Regions from separate parts of the Homo sapiens genome. Here region 1 is linked to region 2. Evidence: promoter capture Hi-C in 16 types of primary human blood cells and fetal thymus (Javierre and others, 2016). All regions are on one chromosome and are shown on one strand. Each heading gives the region's core, a stretch centred on a gene start or on the middle of the fragment in contact. The rest is flanking DNA. Distances are from core to core; before and after follow the strand shown.

Evidence for each region. The method cuts DNA at HindIII sites, captures the fragments that hold promoters and counts their contacts. A CHiCAGO score of 5 or more calls a contact.
Region 1: a contact is called between a fragment that was not itself captured here and the fragment with the promoter of UCK1 in region 2, in 2 of 17 cell types (M0 macrophages and total CD8 T cells). The highest score is 5.6, in M0 macrophages.

The regions. Positions count from the first base shown.
Region 1 is chr9:132,247,726-132,252,275 of GRCh38, forward strand. No RefSeq gene overlaps it. Among named protein-coding and RNA genes, the nearest start is that of NTNG2, 88 kb to the left of the region's middle. The HindIII fragment of the contact is 1,817 bases long and covers 2,229-4,045 here.
Region 2 is chr9:131,528,917-131,533,784 of GRCh38, forward strand. It overlaps UCK1 (uridine-cytidine kinase 1), which reads right to left and starts at 2,347. Exons shown (of 7, transcript NM_031432.5): 1 at 2,151-2,347; 2 at 1,570-1,729; 3 at 572-668; 4 at 212-354; 5 at 28-122. The coding sequence starts at 2,258. RefSeq lists enhancers at 1-798, 1,504-2,417 and silencers at 1,833-1,882, 2,083-2,442, 2,583-2,752. The HindIII fragment of the contact is 8,496 bases long and covers 1-4,868 here.

The DNA of each region.
Region 1 (4,550 bases), core at 1,887-4,386, 720 kb after region 2:
CCTGAGGTCAGGAGTTCGAGACCAGCCTGACCAACATAGAGAAACCCCGTTTCTGCTAAAAATACAAAATTAGCTGGGCATGGTGGTGCATGCCTGTAATCCCAGCTACTCAGGAAGCTGAGGCAGGAGAATCGCTTGAACCTGGGAGGCAGAGGTTGCAGTGAGCTGAGATTGTGCCACTGCACTCCAGCCTGGGCAACAAGAGCAAAACTCCATCTCAAAAACAAACAAAAAAACAAAAAAGAGGAGGTAAAGTGGAGTCAGGAAGGGCACCCAGTATCCCGCCCAGGGTGGCTGGAGAGCCAGAGCTTCAGATGCTGCCTTGGGCGCTGCCCTGGGCACATCCCTCACCCCCAGGGCTACCCCCTGCTGGCCTCCCCACCACAGCCCCCACCACGCACCCGCACCCTCCAGTCCAGCATTTGCCACTCCAGCAAGGGGGGGTGGGCTCTGTTTCCTCAACCAGAGGAAGAAAACAAAGAAAGAATGTCCACCACGGAGCGGGTGTGTAAGTTGCCCGGGGTCGCACAGCCAGGAAGAGCCAGAGGCCAGGATTCAAATGCACTCTCTTGGGCAGGCTGCACAGCCCTGCACCTTTTTTTATTTTATTTTTTCCCTTTATTTATTTATCTTATTTATTTTTAACAACAATGGCCTCATCGTATACACATCCTTCTTTAGCCTGCTATATAAAACTTAGCACTGTATCTAGACTATCAAAGGAGGCCTTTTAAAATAAAAGAGAGGCCGGGCGTGGTGGCTCACGCCCACAATCCCAGCACTTTGGGAGGCCGAGGTGGATGGATCTCCTGAGGTCAGGAGTTCGAGACCAACCTGGCCAACAAGGTGAAACCCCCTTCTCTACTAAAAATATAAAAAATAGCTGGGCGTGGCTGCAGGTGCCTGTAATCCCAGCTACTCAGGGGGCTGAGGCAGGAGAATCGCTTGAACTCAGGAGGCAGAGGTTGCAGTGAGCTGAGATCATGCCATTGCACTCCAGCCTAGGTGACAAGAGTGAGACTCCATCTCAAAAATAATAATAATAATAAAAGAAAAAAGAAATGCAAGGCCAGGCACAGTGGCTCATGCCTGTAATCCTAACACTTTGGGAGTCCAAGGCGGGCGCATCACTTGAGGTCAGGACTTCCAGACTAGCCTGGCCAACATGGCAAAACCCCGTCTCTACTAAAAATACAAAAATTAGCTGGGCGTGGTGGCAGGTGCCTGTAATCCCAGCTACTCGGGAGGCTGAGGCAGGAGAATCGCTTGAACCCGGGAGGCGGAGGTCGCAGTGAGCCTAGATCATGCCACTGCACTCCTCTGGGTGACAGAGGGAGACTCCGTCTCAAAAAAAAACAAAAAGAAATGCAAAGCCCCACCTTTCATTTTTTGCCCAGCCTCTCACCCTCTTCCCCTCCCAGCCTGGGCCGGCTGGCAGTGGGACTCTGGCTCCCAGGGCAGGGGGTTGCCATGTACCCTTCTGACACCTCAGGGTCTGGCCCAGTGCCTGTGCTCCTGGTGGCACAGGAGACCTTGCTGCCCCACAGGGGCGGCCAGGTGGAGGCACCTGCGGCCAAAGTGCTCCAGATGGCTTCCAGCCAGAGGCTCTCTCCCTGGATGATGGAGCAGGTGGCCCTTGGGACCCAGCCAGGAGTAGCTGGAGTGAGGCCCAGAGTCCTGGGAGCTCGTGCCTTTCACTGCTGACCCAGTGCCCGCATTTCTGCCCCTGAAGGGGAGGGCAGCTCCTCAGGCAGAAGGACGGTGAGCTCTGGAACCTGATTTGGGCTTGAAGCTGTACCCCACACCTGCCAACTATACATCCTTGGGCAAGTTCCTCAGTCTCTCTGTGCCTTGGCCATCTCATCTGTGAAATGGGGATGTTAAAAATAGCGCCTGCAGGGTGGGGCCGTTGTGAGGAGTGAATGAGTTGAGCCGCGCAGTGTTTAGAACAGGGCCTGGCACCAAGTCAGCCATCCCTAAGTGTCAGCTGCTGTGATTGCTTTGTTTCCTCTGTGCCCCCTCCCCAAAACCTGCTAGGAGGGTTCAGGCTCACTCACACCTCCTTTCTCACTCATCATATTCCTGAGCACCTCAACGTGACCAGCCTGGCCCAGTGAACCAGACAGACACAGGCTCTGCCCTCCCGGAGCTCCCGGTGGGCCCCTCGCTGCCACCTGCCTTACACACCAGGCAGGATTGAGATTCTTTGTAATCTGCAGAGGGGCCCAAGCTTTTGTGCCAACAAGAAGGACCAGGAAGACTCCCGAAGCCCCTGCCCACCCCACCACCCTCACCTGGCCAAGCCCGGCCTGACTCAGCAGGCCCCAGAAACCTCGGTGCCTGTTCCTCAAACACCCGGACACCTCCTTCCCCTTTCCCCTCCTGCCCACAGAGGGCTTAAGATTGGGGATGGGGTTGTTTGGGGGGTAGGGGATGAGGGCAGAGGGAGGCTCACAGGACTGGGGAGGTGGGGCGTGAATGGGACAGTTGGGAACCAGGAAATGGAGTTTCCAGCGCCCTTCTAGCAGGCACAGCTGACTGTGCCACCTGCCTTCAGAGGTCTCCCCATGCCCAAGAAAGGACGCATGGGCCCCCTGGCTTGGCCCAGCAGGAACATGAGGGCCAGGCAGGGCCAATTCCCAAGAAGCTGAGCCTGCAAGGGACCCGTGGAGAAGATGGGCCTATAAGTTGAGGACGGGGCTCCTGGTGGCCCCCACAGCCCAGGCCAGGCTTGCAGTGCTGGGGAGTACAGGCCTGGACAATGCCTTTGACGGGGTGGCTTTGAGACCTGTGACTCGAGTTTTACACAGCCAGGCAGCGCTAACCCCGGAGACCAGGATCCCGACCTCTGGGTGTCAACACGGCGCCCCCTGCATTTCCAGGGCTAGGACAAGAGCACAGATGGAGGCTCCTGTACCACGTGTCTGGATATTTAAAGCCGCCCATCAAGCTGTTGAATAAAGTTCAGCCAGTCCTAGACAAGCAATCCCTTCACAGTGACCTGAAAGGCTGGGCTCAAATCTGTACCCTTGGACTCCTCCAGCTGTGGCCAGCACGTGGTGGGGTGGCTGGGCCTGGCTTCCCCAACCAGTCACCCTACCCAGGCTCTGATCCTGGGTGGCCTAGAAGGAGTGTGCAGGCTCTGGGGGGCACGCCCCTTAAGCCCATGGCGGGGTTGGGGAGGCCCTGAGCAGGGCTGGAGATACCCAGCCTCACCTCCTGGGGCCCCCTGGGGCCACAGAAGCTATCAGGCAGCCTCTGTGACCCCTCTTGGAAGACCGGCCACAAATACCCACAGTCCCATGGTGCACATAGGGGCAGAGCTCTGGGGTAGCAGGAAACCTATGAGTGGAGACATTTGGGCCCACCCCCAGCCAGCCAGCTGCCTGCTTGGCCAACGGCAAATGTGTACTGCTGTGCGTGCCACGCTGGACAGCCCTGTGCCAGCCACTGGGGCAGCCAAGGGAAGTCTTGAGTGAGAAGCAGCCTCAGTTCAGACTGACGTGTCAGGGGGACGTAAGCCCTGGTGTTGCTGGTTCTTTAGATCAGCATTTCCCTGGGGACAAGTTTCGTGGAAGACAATTTTCCGATAAATAATCAGAGTGGGGGATGGTTTTCAGGTGAAACTGTTCCATCTCAGATCATCAGGCATTAGATTCTCATAAGCAGCATGCAACCTAGATCCCTTGAATGCACAGTTGACAATAGGGTTCATGTCCTATGAATCTGGCAGGAGGTGGAGCTCAGGCAGTGATGCTCACTTGCCACTCGCCTCCTGCTGTGTGGCCCCATTCCTAGCAGGCCATGGACCGGTACTGGTCTGTGGCCTGGGGGTTGGGGACCCCTGCTCTAGATGTTTCAAGAAAAACCAGAAATCTCAAGTTTAATGTCAACCTTTGGATTTTCAAACATTGACAACTACCTTGTCTATCTTTAAAATCATGGGGACCAATTCTTCAAAAAGTCAAACAGAATTCACATAAGATCCAGCAGTTCTGCTCCTAGTACAGGTCCTCAAAGAATGGAAAGAAGGTATTCAAACAAAAGCTTGTACACAAATGCTCACAGTGGCACGATTCACAATAACCAAAGGCTACTGGGAAAACAGCACAAAAGCCACATTTGGGAAATAAATTGTCCATCAACTATCCATCAACTAATGAATGGATAAACAAAATGCTGTACAGCCACACAGTGGACTGTGATTCAGTCAGAAAAAGGCATGAAGCACTGATACACCTACGATGTGGGTGAACTTAAAAACATTATGCCGGCTGGGCGCGGTGGCTCACGCCTATAATCCCAGCACTTTGGGAGACCGAGGCAGGAGGATTACCTGAGGTCAGGAGTTCAAGACCTGTAGGGACCAGCCCTACAGGATCTGTGGGTTTTTCTCCCTGTGTGGAGAGATGAGAGATTGTAGTAATAAAGACACAAGACAAAGAGATAGAAGAAAAGACAGCTGGACCCGGTGGACCACTACCACCAAGACATGGAGACCGGTAGTGGCCCTGAATGCCTGCCTGCGCTGTTATTTATTGGATACAAAG
Region 2 (4,868 bases), core at 1,097-3,596:
GGGCTCTGAAGCAGCGAGCACAGGTACCGGCAGGCAGAACTCCTCGAAGGCCGGCTTCACGAAGGTGGTGTACTGCGTCAGAATCTGCTCCAGGTCCCTCCCTCGGCGCACGTCCCGGAGAACTGCAGCGGCAAGGGGCAGGCGTGCTTCAGACCTCAGGACCTGCCGCCAGCCTCGGCCAGGCAGGCACGGAGGCCCGCGGCCGCCTTACCTCTTCGAGACAGCCTGACGTCGGAGTCGGTGTCCACGAAGAGGCGCAGGTGGAACATGTCCCGGATCTCCTGGCTGTAGAACACCAAGATGCCCTCAAACAGAACCACGTCCGCAGGGTAGACCACCGTGGTCTCTGGTAACCTGAGGGGCGCACGGGGAAAGGGGCTCTGCTGCAGACACAGGGTCTCCAGGCCACACACACAGTCAGCTTCCATTGCAGGGACACTGACTGTGGGAAGGGGTGGGGGACCCACAGAAACCAACCGGGGGAGGCCTGCCGCCAGGCAGGTCTGTGTGAGCCCGAGGGGACGTCCTAGCTGGCCCCTCTCCTCGGCCCTCCCTAGAACCACCTGCTTACCTTGAGTGTGTCACAAAATCATAGGTCGGCACCTCCACCGTTTTGCCCTCCACGATGTTCTTCAGAGTCCTGTGCATCAAATCATTATCAAAGGCATCTGCAGGGTTGGAGACAAAGGCAAGACAGGCAGATGCCCTCGTGCAGCGGACAGCAGGGAACCCTCTCTGCTCTGGGGTCAGCACAGCTGGGTGCTGGGGACACCGAGAACCCTAGCACAGGTAGACTAGGACTACGGCAGTGTATGTTTGGTAGCAACAGTGCCCTCTGCAGCCCTGCAGACCACAGGATGACCCTGTCCTTGCTGTTCTCGGGCTGTGCCACTGCCCAAGCTCTGTGCCCCTGAGATGCCGGAACACAGGGGTTTTCTGATCAGCTCTTCCTGGGAGGTGGGTAGGCTGGGCCTCTGCTTCTCTCTCTTTCTGGGACTAACTGGTTAGACTGCGGCTTTGCAGGCCTTCTTCCCACAAGTCCTTGGGAAAAGGCTGACCATGCCAGCCAGCCAGGGTGGAATCTTCTAGCAGTGGCAGGTGTCTCCCTGCCGCATCTGCCCGTTTACCTGGCCCGGAGCTTCAAGCCACCAGCACTAGTTTACCTACCGCCTCCCACACTGGCCTCTCTGAGGACTTTGCCCCAAAGCACGGGAGGGCACAGTGGGCAGAGGTGTGTGTGGAGGGCCCTAAAGGCCCCAACGTGGGAAGGGAAGATGGGAGGATTTCTCCAGGATCACAGTTGTGGCAGGGCAGGGCAGGGCTCCCCACAGTGCAACAGGCTTCCTGACTGGCTCCAACCACGCTCCTGGGGGGACACTCAGGGCCCAGAGAACTCAGCAAAGTTCCCCTGACTTCACTGTGCAGCCAACTCCACTGCAGGCTGCGTGGCGAGTTGGGGGAACAGCCCAAGCGGGTCTGCATCCATCCAACCTTGGGCCCAAGCGCAGCTGGTTAGCGGCCGCCCAGAATGGGGTCTGCCCTCCCCACATCGTTGGGCTCGCGATTTACCTGGATGGTCAAAATTGTACTGTCCTTTCAAGGCCTTGGCCTTCTGCTCTGCCGTCAGGACCTTGTAGAACCTGTCCTGGCTCAGGATGACCACCTTCCGCTGCCGCTGTTCCACCTCGTTCTGTCCCAGCAACTCCATGATCTTCTCACACACGGTCGACTGGAGACACAGAAGCGGGATTCCCGCCTGGAACCGCTCGTCCTGTGACAGGCACGGGGCCGGCTTCTGGAGACACTGACCCACCCGCCCCCTGGGGGGTATGCTCGGAAGGCGGGAGGACACCAACAGGTGTGGATGGTCTCAGCGGAAGGGCCGCGGGGGCCCAACGGGGTTAGCACGGACTTGGGGCTCCGAGGAGCCCGGCCGGCGGAGAGGCTGTGGGGGAGCCCCGAGGCCCAGCGCCCCAACCCCTCGCCCGCCCCAGCCCGCCCCGGCCCATCGCGGCCTGCAGCCCCTTCGCTCCCGCGCCCTGCCCCTGCCTGGCAGGGGGCCCCTCGGCCGGGGCTGGGGTCTCCTCTCTGGACCGGGCCGCCCGTAGGCACCGGCGAGAGGCGAGACCCCGGCCCGCTCGGCCCCTTACCTTCCCGCTGGCAGTGCCGCCGCTCACCCCTATCAGGAAGGGCCGCTGGTGCGGACGGTCGGCCTCCGGCGCGGGGCTCTCGCAGTCTTCGCCTCCCGCCGAAGCCATCTCGGCCTCCGCTCCCGCGCATCGGGTCCCCGCGCCCGCCCCTTCCCCAGGCCCGGCGCGCCCGCCCAGCGCCGAGGTCGGAGGCAACCGGAGCGATCACTTCCGGGAGGCGCGCGGGGCACGCCGGGAGTTGTAGTCCACCGGGGGGGGGGGGGCCGCGCATGCGTGAGGGTGCAGGGCCCGAGGCCGGCACACCAGGAGCGCCCGCGTCCCATTGCGCCGAAAGCTGGCTGGCAGGGACTGCTGCGCCCGGGCCTCGAGCCGGCTACAAGGTCTCAGACTCAAGTGGCCCGGAAGGTGCCCGTTCCGCACCCCGAGGCTGGGGCTGCGCCTTCGTCCGAGTGCTTGCCTCTGCCTCGCGCTGCCTCTGCGCCAGTCCCGGGCCCTCCCCCGGCCGCCCCCGGGCCTGGCCCCCTCCAGCCCAGGCTCCTCTTGGCCATCGAGGCCTCCGGACTGTCCGGACGCCTCCCACCCCACCCGCTGCTGGAGCCGTCGGGGCGCCCCGGAACGTGGCGGGGGCTGTCGCCTGATGACTTTAGGCTCGCGCCTACAGCGCGCCAAGGAGGCAGAGGCCCATGTGCCGGGTTCCATCCCTGCCGCCCCCCCGCTCCGTGCCTGGCACAGAGAACGTGACAGGCAAATTCTGATCCATTGAAATTATGGATTTCCAGCCGGGCGCGGTGGCTCACGCCTGTAATCCCAACACTTTTGGAGGCTGAGGCGGGTAGATCACGAGGTCAGGAGATCGAGACCATCCTGGCGAACACGGTGAAACCCCGCCTCTACTAAAAATGCAACAAATCAGCTGGGCGTGGTGGCGGGCGCCTGTAATCCCAGCTACTTGGGAGGCTGAGGCAGGAGAATCGCTTGAACCCGGGAGGTGGAGGTTGCAGTGAGCCGAGATGGTGCCACTGCACTCCAGCCTGGGCCACAGAGCAAGACTCCGTCTCAAAAATAAAAAAGAGAGAGAGATAGCTAAGGCTCGGGGCAGAGCATGCTTTTCATATACAAAACAGACAACCCCGGGCGGACGCGGTGGCTCACACCTGTAATCCCAGCACTTTGGGAGGCCGAGGCGGGTGGATCACGAGGTCAGGAGATCGAGACCATCCTGGCTAACATGGTGAAACCCCGTCTCTACTAAAAATACAAAAAATTAGCCGGGCATGGTGGCGGGCGCCTGTGGTCCCAGCTACTCGGGAGGCTGAGGCAGGAGAATGGTGTGAACCCGGGAGGTGGAGCTTGCAGTGAGCCAAGATCACGCTACTGCACTCCGGCCTGGGGGAAAGAGTGAGACTCTGTCTCAAAAAAAAAAAAAAAAAAAAAAAAGACCCCAAGTCTACAGCCCCAGCTACCTCCTTATCTAATTCTCGCCTTTGGAGGCAAGATTCTCCCTGCCCTAAGTCACCCAGGGCCAGGTATCAGGTGACTAGAGACCACTCTGCAGCCCAGAGCCTGCTAGAATTACTCAAACTAGCCAATTTTAAACTCTTTCCCTGCCCTGCCAGGCCTTTTCCATGGAAACCCCAAGAAAGCCTCAGGCCTGGGCTCTCCCCTCGCCCCTGCTTCTGCCTCCTGACCAAACCTGGGGTTCTCTACTGAGAACCGTGCATGGCATGGGTGCCCCTTCTCTCAGGAAATGCGATCAATCTTGCGATGGCTTTGGCCTCTCCTCATGGTCATTCAGCCGTACCTCTGTAAATTAAGCCCCAGGCACAGAACAGTGCCTAGCAAACAGCCACGCTGCTGGCTTAGATCTGTCCAGGTGTGTGTCCCAAAGGTGGCCATCCCCCAAGCCAACTTTGAATTTGTATCAAGGGAGAGTTAGACACGGTTTCTTGCCATTTCTTCCCCTGTGGTCCAGCCACGTAGCGAAAGGCAGGGAAACTAGCAGAGTCTGACCAGGGGCTGTCCCTGATACCCCTGGCCTGGGTCTCGTGTGCCCTCTCTGGTGACTGGCCACAAGGCATGGGCTGCCAGGGCCAGTCAGGCTATTGCGTGGTTCCGCTCCCAAGGCAAAGGGACGCTTTGGGAAGGAGCCACTCCCTGGGAGCAGGCCCAGCACCCAGGAAGCCCACAGTCCAGTAAACAAGGCCCGGGCCCACACGGCTCAGGCCTCTGGGCCACAGTGGCTCCCCTATGGGACCATCCCAACCACCACCAAGCAGAGGGCCAGCCCCAAACCTCTAGCTGGTCCCCAACTCCCCATATTGTGAAGAAGAGTGACTTTTATGGGTTTTTTTTGTTCGTTTTGAGACGGAATCTTGCTCTGTTGCCCAGGCTGGAGTGCAGTGGCATAATCTTGGCTTACCGCAACCTCCGCCTCCCGAGTTCAAGCAATTATCCTGCCTCAGCCTCCCCGAGTAGCTGGGACTACAGGCACCTGCCACCAGGCCCGACTAATTTTTGTATTTTTAGTATAGAGACAGGGTTTTGCCATGTTGCCCAGGCTGGTCTCGAACTCCTATTCACCTGCCTCAGCCTCCCAAAGTGCTGGGATTACAGGTGTGAGCCTCTGTGCCCAGCCGAAGAGTGTCCTTAAAGAAGCATGAGTCAGCCGGGTGCAGTGGTTCACGCCTGTAATCCCAGCACTCTGGGAGGCCGAGGCAG